4 separate regions of the Homo sapiens genome follow, and regions 1, 3 and 4 are each linked to region 2. The links are contacts of gene promoters, found by promoter capture Hi-C in human tissues and cell types (Jung and others, 2019). All regions are on one chromosome and are shown on one strand. The core of a region is centred on a gene start or on the middle of the fragment in contact, and the rest is flanking DNA. Distances in the headings are between cores, read along the strand shown. Region 1 overlaps FAM168A (family with sequence similarity 168 member A). Region 2 holds the start of RAB6A (RAB6A, member RAS oncogene family). Region 3 overlaps FAM168A (family with sequence similarity 168 member A). Region 4 overlaps FAM168A (family with sequence similarity 168 member A).

Evidence for each region. The method cuts DNA at HindIII sites, captures the fragments that hold promoters and counts their contacts. A contact is called where the count stands out against the background at its distance.
Region 1: a contact is called between a fragment that was not itself captured here and the fragment with the promoter of RAB6A in region 2, in 1 of the 25 tissues and cell types used here (adrenal gland).
Region 3: a contact is called between a fragment that was not itself captured here and the fragment with the promoter of RAB6A in region 2, in 1 of the 25 tissues and cell types used here (liver).
Region 4: a contact is called between a fragment that was not itself captured here and the fragment with the promoter of RAB6A in region 2, in 1 of the 25 tissues and cell types used here (lymphoblastoid cells).

Annotation. Positions count from the first base shown.
Region 1 is chr11:73,434,407-73,437,720 of GRCh38, forward strand. The region is part of intron 2 of FAM168A (family with sequence similarity 168 member A); the gene reads right to left. Among named protein-coding and RNA genes, the nearest start is that of RELT, 60 kb to the left of the region's middle. The HindIII fragment of the contact is 7,386 bases long and covers 1-3,314 here.
Region 2 is chr11:73,759,453-73,762,545 of GRCh38, forward strand. It overlaps RAB6A (RAB6A, member RAS oncogene family), which reads right to left and starts at 1,622. Exons shown (of 8, transcript NM_198896.2): 1 at 1,114-1,622. The coding sequence starts at 1,183. It overlaps LOC124902711 (a long non-coding RNA gene), which reads left to right and starts at 1,706. Exons shown (of 2, transcript XR_007062775.1): 1 at 1,706-1,788; 2 at 2,285-3,093. RefSeq lists an enhancer at 773-1,273 and silencers at 1,570-1,879, 2,040-2,229. The HindIII fragment of the contact is 11,651 bases long and covers 1-3,093 here.
Region 3 is chr11:73,500,132-73,503,676 of GRCh38, forward strand. The region is part of intron 1 of FAM168A (family with sequence similarity 168 member A); the gene reads right to left. Among named protein-coding and RNA genes, the nearest start is that of FAM168A, 96 kb to the right of the region's middle. The HindIII fragment of the contact is 5,152 bases long and covers 1-3,545 here.
Region 4 is chr11:73,458,737-73,462,298 of GRCh38, forward strand. The region is part of intron 2 of FAM168A (family with sequence similarity 168 member A); the gene reads right to left. Among named protein-coding and RNA genes, the nearest start is that of RELT, 84 kb to the left of the region's middle. The HindIII fragment of the contact is 7,164 bases long and covers 1-3,562 here.

The DNA.
Region 1 (3,314 bases), core at 419-2,918, 320 kb before region 2:
ACATGATAATCAAAGTAAGACATATTGAGAAGGTATTATTTTTGCAAAGGCTTAAAGGAAATGATAGTGTTAAGCAGATAGCTGAAGGAGTGTTTTAGACAAAACAGTCAGTGCAAAGGCCCTAAGGTGACAGCATATGGGACAATGTTGGAGGAACAGCAAAAAGGCCAGTGTGGCTGGAATGGAACAAATGAGGGGGCAGTAGTAGTAGAGTAAGTCAGAGAGGTAAAGGGCTGGCCAGTTCATGTAGGGCTTTACAGGCCACTGTGAGGACTTAGACTTCTATTCTGAGTGAAATGAGAAGACCTCATAGGGTTTTCAGCAGAAGAATAACATGCTTTGACTTATGTTTGAAAAGGGTCACTCTGATTGATGTGTTGAAAACAGACTATAAGCGGGTAGAGAAGCATAGCAATCAGCTGAGAGGCTACTGCAAGCTCCTGGCAATAGATGTGGGATTCAGGGAAATAGTGGAGGTTTGAAGAGACGTGACATCCCAAGAACCTTCACATACTTTGCCATACTGTTTTCTAGAAAGACCATCAATTTGTACTTGTTCTAGCAGTGTATAAGTGCCTGTCTCACTGCTTCCTGCAGTTGTTAAATGCTCACTGGTATTCTGACTGACAATGAAAAGCTGGTTTTAAAAGTCAAAGATTAAATCCCTAAATCCCTAAAAGCTTCTTTGGGATTTGTAAATACTGGAGCTTTAATAATGTATCTTTGTTAATATGCCTTTCCCTAAATCCTTTCCAATTCCAAAGAAAATTCATCTCTTTACCCCCTGATCATTTTCTGATTTTAGAACTGAGGTAGCTAACTTGTTGATTAATTAGCAATCTGGAGGTGTGCTACTTCTCAAGAAGAAAGTCAGGGGTCTAATCTGGGAAGCCAGGTGATCCAGTCTCATAGCCAAAATCTGTACTCAGCTTCATGTGAGAAATTGTGCAGCCACAGGTAATCACACTCCTGTTTTGTCATTTCAGATGTCTTTCACTTTAGGGGCAATTATAGGATGTTCCTTCAATGTTTCCAAGTGGAATTATTTTTAATTCACTTGAATTTGGCAGATATTATATAATGGCAGCATTACAGGGAGCTTTATTTGGTCCTCCCTCCCTCTCTTTCCTTCCTTTCTTACTTCTTTTCTTACCTTCCTTCCTTCCCTTCTTACTTTACTTATTTATTTATTTATTAATTACAGGATCTCAAGCATTGCCTGAGTCCAGGAGTTTTATAACTGTTAATACATTATGTCTGGTCAGGTATGGTGGCTCACACCTGTAATCTCAACACTCTGGGAGGCTGAAGTAGGAGGATTGCTTGAGCTCAGGATCTCTACAGTCTTGTGACACATGACTGTACACTGAGTTCTTGAAAAGACATACCGTCTCTATTTCACTCATTTCTCATACAAAAGATATTTTCGCATTTGCTTTTCATTTGAGCCTCAAATCAATCCTAATGTGATTTCTCCCATTTTATAGCTAATCAAATAGAGGTTGAGAGGTGAAGTAACTTTCTGGTTAAGATTATTCAGCAAGTCAGTGGTCGAATTGGGAAGGGAATCCCAAAAGCAATGCCTTTTCCACACCTACCAAATAATTATCACTTTGTCCTTAGAAACAAGCCTGCCCCTTTTGTATTTGTATTTTTTGAAGGTCAAGAGTGAAGAGAATAAATGGACACAAGTTAGCTTTTTTCCTTTATATCCTAAAGGCTGCAGTAGTGATCAGGTATTCTGGGATTTTGATGTGTACATTTTAATTGCTTTATAGATGTCAATACAATCTAAGCCTCTTTTCTTGTTGGTACTAGGATTAGGACTAAAGAAATGTAAAGCTATTTTTTGATTAATATGGAAATTAGAAATTACTTTCAACAGAAATCAGGGGACTATTTCTGAAAATACTTTACCTTTAGGAGCTTAAAATAGCAGAGTATCAAAAGGCCAGAGGAAGACAAACTCCCTGGCTCAGAAAGACAAAGAGGCTTACTTCTTTGTGAGCAGGAGAATACTTAGGCAATGAAGACATTTTAGGTCTGAAGCTCACAATTAAAAAGAAAACTGCCCTGCAAATGACCCCCTAGGGTGATCAAAACCAAAACAATGACCAAAAAAAAAATCTTTATTCTCTCAAGATAATAAAGAAGAGGGCAAGAGGAAGGATGTAATTTTGAATCTGTATTATGTTCTGGCCACTGTGCTAGGCACTTCTATATCTGATTTAATCTCTACCCAAAGTCAACAAAATATATTACTAGTTCCATTTTAGAGAGAGGATATTAAGACTTCTCTTACAGAGCTAATAAGTAGAGAGTGGAGACAGAACCCATTCCTACCAACCTCCCTGCCTCTCCTCAAAATGAGTCTACTCAGAGAAAATCTCTGGATTTGGCTGCCATTTACTTTGCCAAAATTCTTTTACTTTATCTTCAAAACCAAGGAAAAAAGGAAATTACTCTGGAGAGTCAATTTGGTCAAAGATGGCTGTGTTTAAGAAAAGAAATAAAACAACAACTACTGTTTCCACTCAGTGGAAAGGTCATGGTTGTGTTATTGAAAAGTATCACAGGCACTGAATTATAGAGTTGGAAGGGGTATTAGAGGTGATTGAGTCCAACTTGTCACTCAGCACAGGAATACCCTTTATAGTGGCACACATGACTGGCAGCATAGCCTCTGCCAGCATACTTTTTTTTTTTTTCCAAGACGGAGTCTTGCTCTGTCTCCAGGCTGCAGTGCAGTGGCGCTATCTCGGCTTACTGCAACCTCCGCCTCCTGGGTTCAAGCAATTCTCCTGCCTCAGCCTCCCAAGCAGCTGGGATTACAGGCACATGCCACCCCACCTGGCTAATTTTTGTATTCTTAGTAGAGATGGGGTTTCATCATGTTGGCCAAGCTGGTATTGAACTCTTGACCTCGTGATCCACCCACCTCGGCCTCCCAAAGTGCTGGGATTTACAGGTGTGAGCTACCACGCCCGGCCACTCTTTTTTTTTTTTTTTTTTTTTGAGACAGAGTCTCACTCTATCGCCCAATCTAAAGTGCAGTGGTGCGATCTCAACTCACTGTAACCTCTGCCTCCTCGGTTCAAGCAATTCTTCTGCCTCAGCCTCCCGCAGCATACTCTTCTAATGATGGTATGCTCAGAACCTCTTCAGTGAGTCAAAGCACCGACTGGAGAGCTCTGAAGTTAGAAAATTCTTCACTCTGAGCTAAAAATCTGACTTATTAAGAATCTTACCCTGAACATTTTTTCAGCCACTGGAGTGCAGAGGCTGAGGCAGGAGAACTGCTTGAACCCAAGACA
Region 2 (3,093 bases), core at 372-2,871:
TCATCAGACAGTACAGAATATTAAGCATAAAAGAATTATTTAGCCCAAATGGTATTTAAATCTAATTTAGGTAACTAGATGATGAGTCTGTTCCTACTCTACTCCATTTTCCAAAGGAAATCCGACAAAACAAAGATGTTTGTTATTCCAAGCCTTCTCTCACATGAATCCTCAATATATCATTGGAAAATACTCAAGAAGGAATGAATAATTAACATTTCCCCAGTAATTCCCTTTTGTACCACCATGAGACTCAGACGCTGCTTCATGTTGAAAAGAGAAAAAGGGGAGGTGAGATGAGAAAAATTCCAAGTAAAATGATCATGACATAGCATCTGGCAGAGATTGAAAAATCATCAACATTGCCAAAAGAATTGTCAGTGATGAAAGTCAAGAGAACAAAATGAGGTTTTCCGACAAGCCACAGCCCCATCTAACCTAAGGGGCAAAAATCTCCACTGCCGACGCTACCCCTTTCACCCCCAACCACCCCATGCTCAAGTCGTCTCCAATTCAGATGTTTCCTCTATGGCCCAGACTAATTTCCCACCCAGGTGAAAATCATTTAATTTTTTCTACTACCACCCCTTCCCACCTTCCACGACATCAGCACTTCGCAGGGCCAAGCCTCTGGGGAAAACAACGCCCAGATCCCACCCTCCTTGGCCAAGGTTGAAGAGGGCCCGCTCTCGGGAGTGGGGCTTCCCTGAGTGGGCCTCACAGAGCTGAGGAACTGGGAAAAGAGCAAGGAATAAGGGTGGGGCTCAAGAAAGGGGGCCGGGGTACGGGCAATGACCGAGACCGGAGGAAGAAAGGGATGGACAAGAGGCTGGGCGGGGTGAGGTCTGGGGAGGGAGGGCAGATCGACCGGAGATGGCCGGACTGCGGGGAACGGAGCCGGGGAGTCGAGGATTGAAGAACCCGGGGAACAGGGTAAAAACTCGGCCACTGGCGAAGAGCCAGTGGCACCGGGGGGCACATCGGGAAGGGCTGCGGTGGCAACGAGCGCGGACGCGAGGCGGGCAGGGAGCCTCCGCGGACGGAAGGGCCGCACCGGGGGCGGTGCGGGGACGCTGCGGCCAGCTGCCAGGAGTAGGGGAGCCACGCACTCACCGCTTTGCTCCCCCAGGAACACCAGCTTGAATTTCCTCAGCGGATTCCCGAAGTCTCCGCCCGTGGACATTGTGGAACTAGAGGAGCGGCCGCCGCCTCAGCCTAGAGACCTCCCGGACCGATGCTGCTCCAGCCAGCTGACGAAAAAGGCGAGCGGAAGGGCGGGCACCGAGCTCTCTCGGCCCCTGCAAGGCCCGGTGGAGGAGCCCGGCTGGAGGGCAGCAGGACTCTCCACAGACTGGCAGCCGCCGCCGCCTCCCGGCAGAGTAGCCTAGCACCGAGCGAGGCCCGCGGCTGGGAAGGGAAGGAGGGCGGTGTCGGCAGGAGCCAGGGGTGTCCTCTGGCTTCCCAAAGCTAGGGCCGTTCCCTCCTTCCGCACTCGGCTCCCAGACCTGGGGAAGAGAAGCTGAGGGTGGCGGAGCCGGAACCGCAGACGTATCTGGGACCTCTCACGCGCAGCGCCTGAGCTTCCACAGCTGCCGCCGCCGCCGCAGCCCAACCTGCTGAGTGCGCGAGCCTCTGGAGCGGCGCGGGGCGAGCCCGGGCGCGAGCCTGCGGCCCCGCCGGCCGCTGGCGTGCGTGCGTGCGTGCATGCGTGCGCGCCACCGCCATCGCCATCGCCTTCCTGGTTTGGACAGCTCTACCGGCTCCTCCCGCACGGCGGCGACGGGGCAGGTTAGGTTTCCACTGGCGTCAAAAGAAGCCAGGAGGAGGCGGGGCAAGCCAGGGATAAGTTAGTGGGAGGCTGGAGCCCTTACGTCACTTACATAATGAGCCAATCGGAAGGGGCTGAGGGCGAGCCCACACGCGAGTGAGGTGGCAGCGTGAGAGCGCGCGCAGCCCTCGAGCTGTGGAAAGCGGAGCACTGTGGCGGCCATAAGAAGTGTGGCGCCTCTCAGCCTGAGGGGAGGGGAAGGAAAGAAAGGGGAGGGGGAGAAGGGTGGGGCGGAGGCGGGGCCGGGACAAAGGTGGAATATGATCCCCCAAAAAGTGTGGGTGGGGTCCTATAGCCTTAAAATTTGTAATGGGAGCCTCTTTCCTGAGCCCTCAGCCGTGCCTCACAGTCCTCAGATCCCTTCTTCACCATTGCACACACCCCACCTTCTCCATCCTCTCATCATAATTCCTCACAGGCATCTTACTAAATAACATTCTCCTCCATTGCTCCCAGGAATGTTATAACTGCCAGAATCATGGCCTCCCAATTTTGCAGATGAGGAAACTGAAGCTTAGAGGGAGTAAATGACTTGCAAAATCCATAAAGCGGGCTGGGCGCGGTGGCCCACGGCTGTAATCCCAGCACTTTGGGAGGCGGAGGCGAGTGGATCACGAGGTCAAGAGATCGAGACCATCCTGGCCAACATGGTGAAACCCTGTCTCTACTAAAAATGCAAAAATTAGCTGGGGGTGGTGGCGCGCGCCTGTAGTCCCAGCTACTCGGGAAGCTGAGGCAGGAGAATCGCTTGAACCCGGGAGGCGGAGGTTGCAGTGAGCCGAGATCACACCACTGCACTCCAGCCTGGCGACAGAGCGAGACTCCATCTCAACAGAAAAAAAAAAAAAAAAAAAAAAAAAAAGCCGGGCGTGGTGGCTCATCCCTGTAATCCCAGCACTTTGGAAGGCTGAGTTGGGTGGATCACCTGACGTCAGGAGTTCCAGACCAGCCTTGGCCAACATGATGAAACCCCATCTCTACTAAAAATACAAAAAATTAACGTGGTGTGGTGGCGGGTGCCTGTAATCCCAGCTACTTGGGAGGCTGAGGCAGGAGAATCGCTTGAACACGGGAGGCGGAGGTTGCAGTGAGCCAAGGTCACACCATTGCACTCCAGTCTGGGCAACAAGAGCGAGACTCTGTCTCCAAAAAAAAAAATCCATAAAGCAGCTGGGCGCGGTGGCTCACGTCTGTAATCCCAGCACTTTGGGAGGCCGAGGCGGTAGAATCGCTTGAGCCCAGGAGTTCGAGACCAGGCTGGGCAA
Region 3 (3,545 bases), core at 524-3,023, 260 kb before region 2:
GTCACCTACAAAGGGAAGCCCATCAGTCTAACAGTGGACCTCTCAGCAGAAACTCTTCAAGCCAGAAGAGATTGGGGGCCAATATTCAACATTCTTAAAGACAAGAGTTTACAACCCAGAATTCCTTTTTTTTTTTTTTTTTTTTGAGACAGAGTCTTGCTCTGTCACCCAGGCTAGAGTACAGTGGCATGATCCCAGCTCACTGCAACCTCTGCCTCCAGGGTTCAAGGGATTCTCCTGCCTCAGCCTCCCAAGTAACTGGGACTACAGGTGCCTACCAGCATGCCCAGCTAATTTTTGTATTTTTAGTAGAAGACAGGGTTTCACCATGTTATCCAGGCTGGTCTCGAACTCCTGACCACATGATCCACCCACCTTGGCCTCCCAAAGTGCTGGGATTACAGGCATGAGCCACTGCACCCAGCCTCAACCCAGAATTTCATATCCAGCCAAACTAAGCTTCATAAGCTAAGGAGAAATAAAATCCTTTCCAGACAAGCAAATGCTGAGGGATTTCATTACCACCAGGCCTGCCCTGCAAGAGCTGCTGAAAGAAGCACTAAATATGGAAAGGAAAAACCAGTACCAGCCACTGTAAAAACACACCAAAATATAAAGACAAATGACACTATGAAGAAACTGCATCAACTAGTATGCAAAATAACCAAACAGCATCATGATGACAGGATCAAATTCACACATAACAATATTAACCTTAAATGTAAATGGGCTAAATGCCCCAATTAAAAGACACAGACTGGCCAATTGGGTAAGGAGTCAAGACCCATTGGTGTGCTGTATTCAGGAGACCCATCTTATGTGCAAAGACACACACAGCCTCAAAATAAAGGGATGGAAGAAAATTTACCAAGCAAATGGAAAGCAAAAAAAAAAAAAGCAGGGGTTGCAATCCTAGTCTCTGACAAAACAGGCTTTAAACCAACAAAGATCAAAAAAGACAAAAAAGGGCATTACATAATGGCAAAGGGAACAATTCAACAGGAAGTGCTAACTATTCTGAATATATATGCATCCAATACAGGAGCACCCAAATTCATAAAACAAGTTCTTAGAGACCTACAAAGATACTTAGACTACCACACAATAATAGTGGGAGACTTTAACACCCCACTGTCAGTATCAGACAGATCAATGAGACAGAAAATTAACAAGGATATTCGGGACTTGAACTTAGCTCTGGATCAAGTGGACCTGGTAGACGTCTACAGAACTCTACCCTAAATCAACAGAATATACATTCCTCTCAGTGCCACATGGCACTTATTCTAAAATCAACCACTAATTGGAAGCAAAACACTTCTCAGCAAAAGCAAAAGAACTGAAATCATAACAAACAGTCTCTCAGACCACAATACAATCAAATAGAACTTAGGATTAAGAAACTCGCTCAAAACCACACAATTTCATGGAAATTGAACAACCTGCTCCTGAATGACTCCTGGGTAAATAATGAAATTAAGGCAGAATCAAGAAGTTCTTTGAAACCAATGAGAACAAAGAGACAACGTACCAGAATCTCTGGGACATAGCTAAAGCAGTATTAAGAGGGAAATTTACAGCACTAAATGCCCACATCAGAAAGCTAGAAAGATCTCAAATCGACACCCTAACATCACAATTAAAAGAGCTAGAGAGGCAACAGCAAACTAATCCAAAAGCTAGCAGAAGGCCGGGCGCGGTGGCTCAAGCCTGTAATCCCAGCACTTTGGGAGGCCAAGGCGGGCAGATCACAAGGTCAGGAGATCAAGACCATCCTGGCTAACACGGTGAAACCCCGCCTCTATTAAAAGTACAAAAAATTAGCCAGGTGTGGTGGCGGGCGCCTGTAGTCCCAGCTACTCAGGAGGCTGAGGCAGGAGAACGGCATGAACCCCGGAGGCGGAGCTTGCAGTGAGCTGAGATTGCACCACTGCACTCCAGCTTGGGCGACAGATCAAAGCTTTGTCTCGAAAAAAAAAAAAAAAAAGGCTAGCAGAAGACAAGAAATAACTAAGATCAGAGAAGAACTGCAGGAGCTAGAGACACAAAAAACCCTCAAAAAAAAAATCAACAAATCCAGGAGCTGGTTTTCTGAAAAAATTAACAAAATAGATAGACTGCTAGCTAGACTAATGAAGAGAGAAGAATCAAATAGACAAAATAAAAAATGACAAAGGGGATATCACCACTGATCCCACAGAAATACAAACTACCATCAGAGAGTACTATAAACACCTCTACACAAATAAACTAGAAAATCTAGAAGAAATGGATAAATTCCTGGACACATATACCCTCCCAAGACTAAACCAGGAAGAACTCAGATCCCTGAATAGACTGATAAGAAGTCTGAAATTGAGGCAGTAATTAATAGCCTATCAACCAAAAAAAGTCCAGGACCACACGGATTTACAGCCGAATTCTACCAGAAGTACAAAGAGGAGCTGGTACTGTTCCTCCTGAAACTATTCTAAACAACTGAAAAGGAGGGACTCATTTTATGAGGCCTCATTTTATGAAGCCATCATCATCCTGATACCAAAACTGGGAAGAGACACAACAAAAAAAAGAAAACTTCAGGCCAAATATCCCTGATGAACATCAATGCAAAAATCTTCAATAAAATACTGGCAAACTGAATCCAGCAGCACATCACAAAACTTATCCACCACGATCAAGTCGGTTTCATCCCTGGGATGCAAGGCTGGTTCAACATATGCAAATCAACAAACATAATCCATCACATAAACAGATCCAAAGACAAAAACCACATGATTATCTCAATAGATGCAGAAAAGGCCTTTGATAAAATTCAACATGGCTTCATGTTAAAAACTCTCAGTAAACTAGGTATTGATGGAACATATCTCAAAATAATAAGAACTATTTATGACAAACCCACAGCCAATATCATACTCAACAGGCAAAAGCTGGAAGCATTCCCTTTAAAAACCAGTACAGGACAAGGATGCCCTCTCTCACCACTCCTATTCAACATAGTATTGGAAGTTCTGGCCAGGGCAATCAGACAAGATAAAGAAATAAAGCATATTCAAATAGGAAGAGAGGAAGTCAAGTTGTCTCTGTTTGAAGACAACATGATTTTATATTTAGAAAACCCCATCATCTCAGCCCAAAAACTTCTTGAACTGATAAGCAACTTCAGCAAAGTCTCAGGATATAAAATCAATGTGCAAAAATCACAAGCATTCCTTTACACCAACAATAGGCAAGCAGAAAGCCAAATCATGAATTAACTCCCATTCACAATCACTACAAAGAGAATAAAATACCTAGGAATACAGCTAACAAGGGATGTAAAGGACCTCTTCAAGGATAGCTACAAACCACTGCTCAAGGAAATAAGAGAGGACACAAACAAATGGAAAAACATTCCATGCTCATGGATAGGAAGAATCAATATAATGAAAATGGCCACACTGTCAAAATAATTTATAGATTCAATGCTATTCCCAAACAATTCACTGACATTCTTCACAGAATTAGAAAAAAACTATTTTAAATTTCATATGGAATCAAAGAAG
Region 4 (3,562 bases), core at 386-2,885, 300 kb before region 2:
AGTAGCTGGGATTACAGGTGCCTGCTACCACGCCCGGCTAATTTTTTGTACTTTTAGTAGAGATGGGGTTTCACTATGTTGGCCAGGCTGGTCTCAAACTCCTGACCTCATGATCCGCCCGCCTTGGCCTCCCAAAGTGATGGGATTACAGGCGTGAGCCACTGCACCCAGCCTCTAATAGAAATTTCTACCTCACAGTGCTTGTTGTAAGGATTAAATGAGATCACAAATCGTAACTTTAAGTTGTAAAGTATTGTGCTTCTTATGTATTATTATATGCGGTTTTGTGAGCCTTTGTTCTCACATGCTTCAGAGAAAATTTGTCCTGGAAAGTCAAACTTTGTTTTTGTTTTGTTTTGTTTTTATAGACGGGGTCTTGCTCTGTCACCCAGGCTGGAGTGCAGTGGCGTAATCATGGCTCACTGCAGCCTCAACCTCCTGGGCTCAAGCAACCCTCCCACCTCAGCCTCCTGAGTAGCTGGGACAACAGGCATGTGCCACCATGTCCAGCCAATTTTTAAATTTTTTTTTGTAGAAATGAGGTCTCACCCATCCTGGCTAACACAGTGAAACCCCGTCTCTACTGAAAATACAAAAAAATTAGCCGGGCGTGGTGGCATGCGCCTATAGTCTCAGCTACTCGGGAGGCTGAGGCAGGAGAATGGCGTGAACCTGGGAGGCGGAGCTTGCAGTGAGCCGAGATTGCACCACTGCACTCCAGCCTGGGCGACAGAGCAAGACTCTGAGTCAAAAAAAGAAAAAAAAAAGGAAAAAGAAAAAAAAAAGAAATGAGGTCACACTATGTTGCACAGGCTGGTCACATTTTGTTTTTAAAAGTCAAATGTCCTGAGCAAAGCAGCTGCCACTCAAAATGAGCTAGCCTAAGGCTGACTACATAGGTAATATAAGAGGTTTGAAGACAACTCTTCATTGCTAAATAGCTCAAAGGAATTGTCAAATTTCAACTATCATTGTTCTAAAAAAGAATAATTGCTGTAAACCAAGTAGGCAAGGAAAGAGGGTCTCTTGTTTTCTCTGAGGGTCTCTGCTCAGTCTCCATAAGACTCAAAAACAGAAAAGTCTCCCTGTTCCATCTGGTCTATCCAGAGGGGTTGACCAGTCACAACAGATAATCCAAATGAATTTTTTTTTTTTTTTTTTTTTTTGAGACGGAGTCTCTGTTGCCCAGGCTGGAGTGCAGTGGCACAATCTTGACTCACTGCAAGCTCCGCCTCCCGGGTTCACACCATTCTCCTGCCTCACCCTCCTGAGTAACTGGGAGTACAGGCGCCCACCACCATGCCTGGCTAATTTTTTGTATTTTTAGTAGAGACGGGGTTTCACCGTGGTAACCAGGATGGTCTCGATCTCCCGACCTCGTGATCCGCCCACCTCGGCCTCCCAAAGTGCTGGGATTACAGGCGTGAGCCACCGCACCCGGCCTCCAAATGAAATTTTTATTCACCTACAAAGCAGAAAAAAATCTCTCCCGCACTGGCTACCTGTCCCAGACTCTCCTTGCCATATCAGAGGGCTACTCATTAGCAAGGATAGACAAATCACAGGAGTCTTTTCCTCAAACCCATCTCATACTTCTCTGCTGTAACCTCCTTCATTCATTAGAGTCTCATCTCCTTCCCTTTATTTCTTTCTTCTCCCCCCTTTCTTCCTTCAAAATTTACTGAGAGCCAACTCTGTACCAGTCACTGTGCTAGGTACTGGGGATATAATGATGATGAATAATAAACAAAGGCTACTAATGCTTTTTTTTTTTTTTTTTTTTTTGAGACAAAGTCTCACTCTATTGCCCAGGCTGGAGTATAGTGGCACAATCTCAGCTCACTGCAACCTCTGCTTCCTGAGTTCAAGCGATTCTCCTGCCTCAGCCTCCCCAGTAGCTAGGACTACAGGAATGTGCCACCATGCCTGGCTAATTTTTGTATTTTTAGTAGAGACGGGGTTTCACCATGTTGGCCAGGCTGGTCTCGAACTCCTGACTTCAGGTAATCCACCCACCTCGGCCTTCCAAAGTGCTGGGATTACAGGCGTGAGCCACTGTGCCCAGCCCCTCAAAGCACTTTTGAAGTAAGCAGACACTATTATCCCTACTTTATAGAAGAAACTCAGAGAGGTGGGAAATGACCGAAGATAAGAGAGTTACCTTGTTTAAAGAAATCTAACTAAGTGTGTTGGAAATTAAAAAGCAGCTATAAGGTGAGCAGAAAGAGAACTAGATTGGCTGCCAGAGGTCTGGGTTCTACTTCCAGGTTTGACATCTATCTGTCCATCCATTTGTTGAAAAACTAGTCAATATTCATGGCATGCAGGGGCCTAGCTGGGTATTAGAGATACAGGAGTAAATCAGATACTGAATTCATTGTCAATCTTTTTTTTTTAAGACAAGGTCTCCACTCTTGTCACCCAGGCTGGGGTGCAATGGTACAAGCATGGCTCACTGAAGCCTTGACTTCCTGGGCTCAAGTGACCCTCCCAACTCAGCCTCCAGAGTAGCTGGAACTACAGGCAGGTGCCACCACACCCAGCTAATTTTTACATTTTTTTATAGAGATGAGGTCTCGCCATGTTGCTCAGGCTGGTCTCAAACTCCTGGCCTCAAGAGATCCTCCCCCATCAGCCTCTTAAAGTGCTGGGATTACAGGTATGAGCCACGGCACATGGCCCACTGTGAATCTTAAGTGCTTTCCTTAGGCACTTATTAGACCTCAGGTTTCTCATCTAAGAACAGGGTTGGATTTGATGGTCTCTAATCATCTTATAATTCTAAATAAAAACATAATACCAGCCACCAGATGGACTGAGAATATAGATAAATAGGATGAGCAGGAGATGGGCTGGAGATACCTGAATGGTAAGGTCATAAAAACTTTCTATTGCAAGCTAAGAAGTTTGGACTTTATCCAAAGGACAGTGAAGAGTCATTGAAGGGTTTTAAGCATTGGAGTGATGTCAAATTTTCAAGAGAGAAAAACGATTATGGCTATGTTATGTAAAGAACAGACTGGGGACAGGGGTATATGAAAGGAGTTAGGAAGTCCAGTTAAGAGGCAACTTAATCCCAGAAAGAGTAATAATGACCTGAATGATAACAGTGGAAAGATAGGGAAGAAAAGTCTAATCTAAGAAAGGTAAAGGAGGTTTTTTAAAAATAAAAAGAACATTTCATATCCATTATGATGGCTATTATTTAAAGAGAGAGAGAGAGAGAAAACAAACATTGGCGAAGCTGTGCAGAAACTGAAACTTTTATAAACCACAAGGGAGTATGTAAAATGCTGCAGCCACTAGGAAAACAGTATGGCAGTTCCTCAAAAAATTAAAAATAGAATTACTGTATGACCCAGCAATTCCACTTCTGGATATATACCCAAAAGAATTGAAAGCAAGGTCTTCAAGAGATATTTGTACATCCATGTTCATAGCAGCATTATTTACAATAGACCAAAAGCAGAAGCAACCCAAGTGTCCACATACCACTGCATGCGGCATATACATAAAACAGAATATTATTATTCAGCCTAAAAAGGAAGGAAATCCTGACACA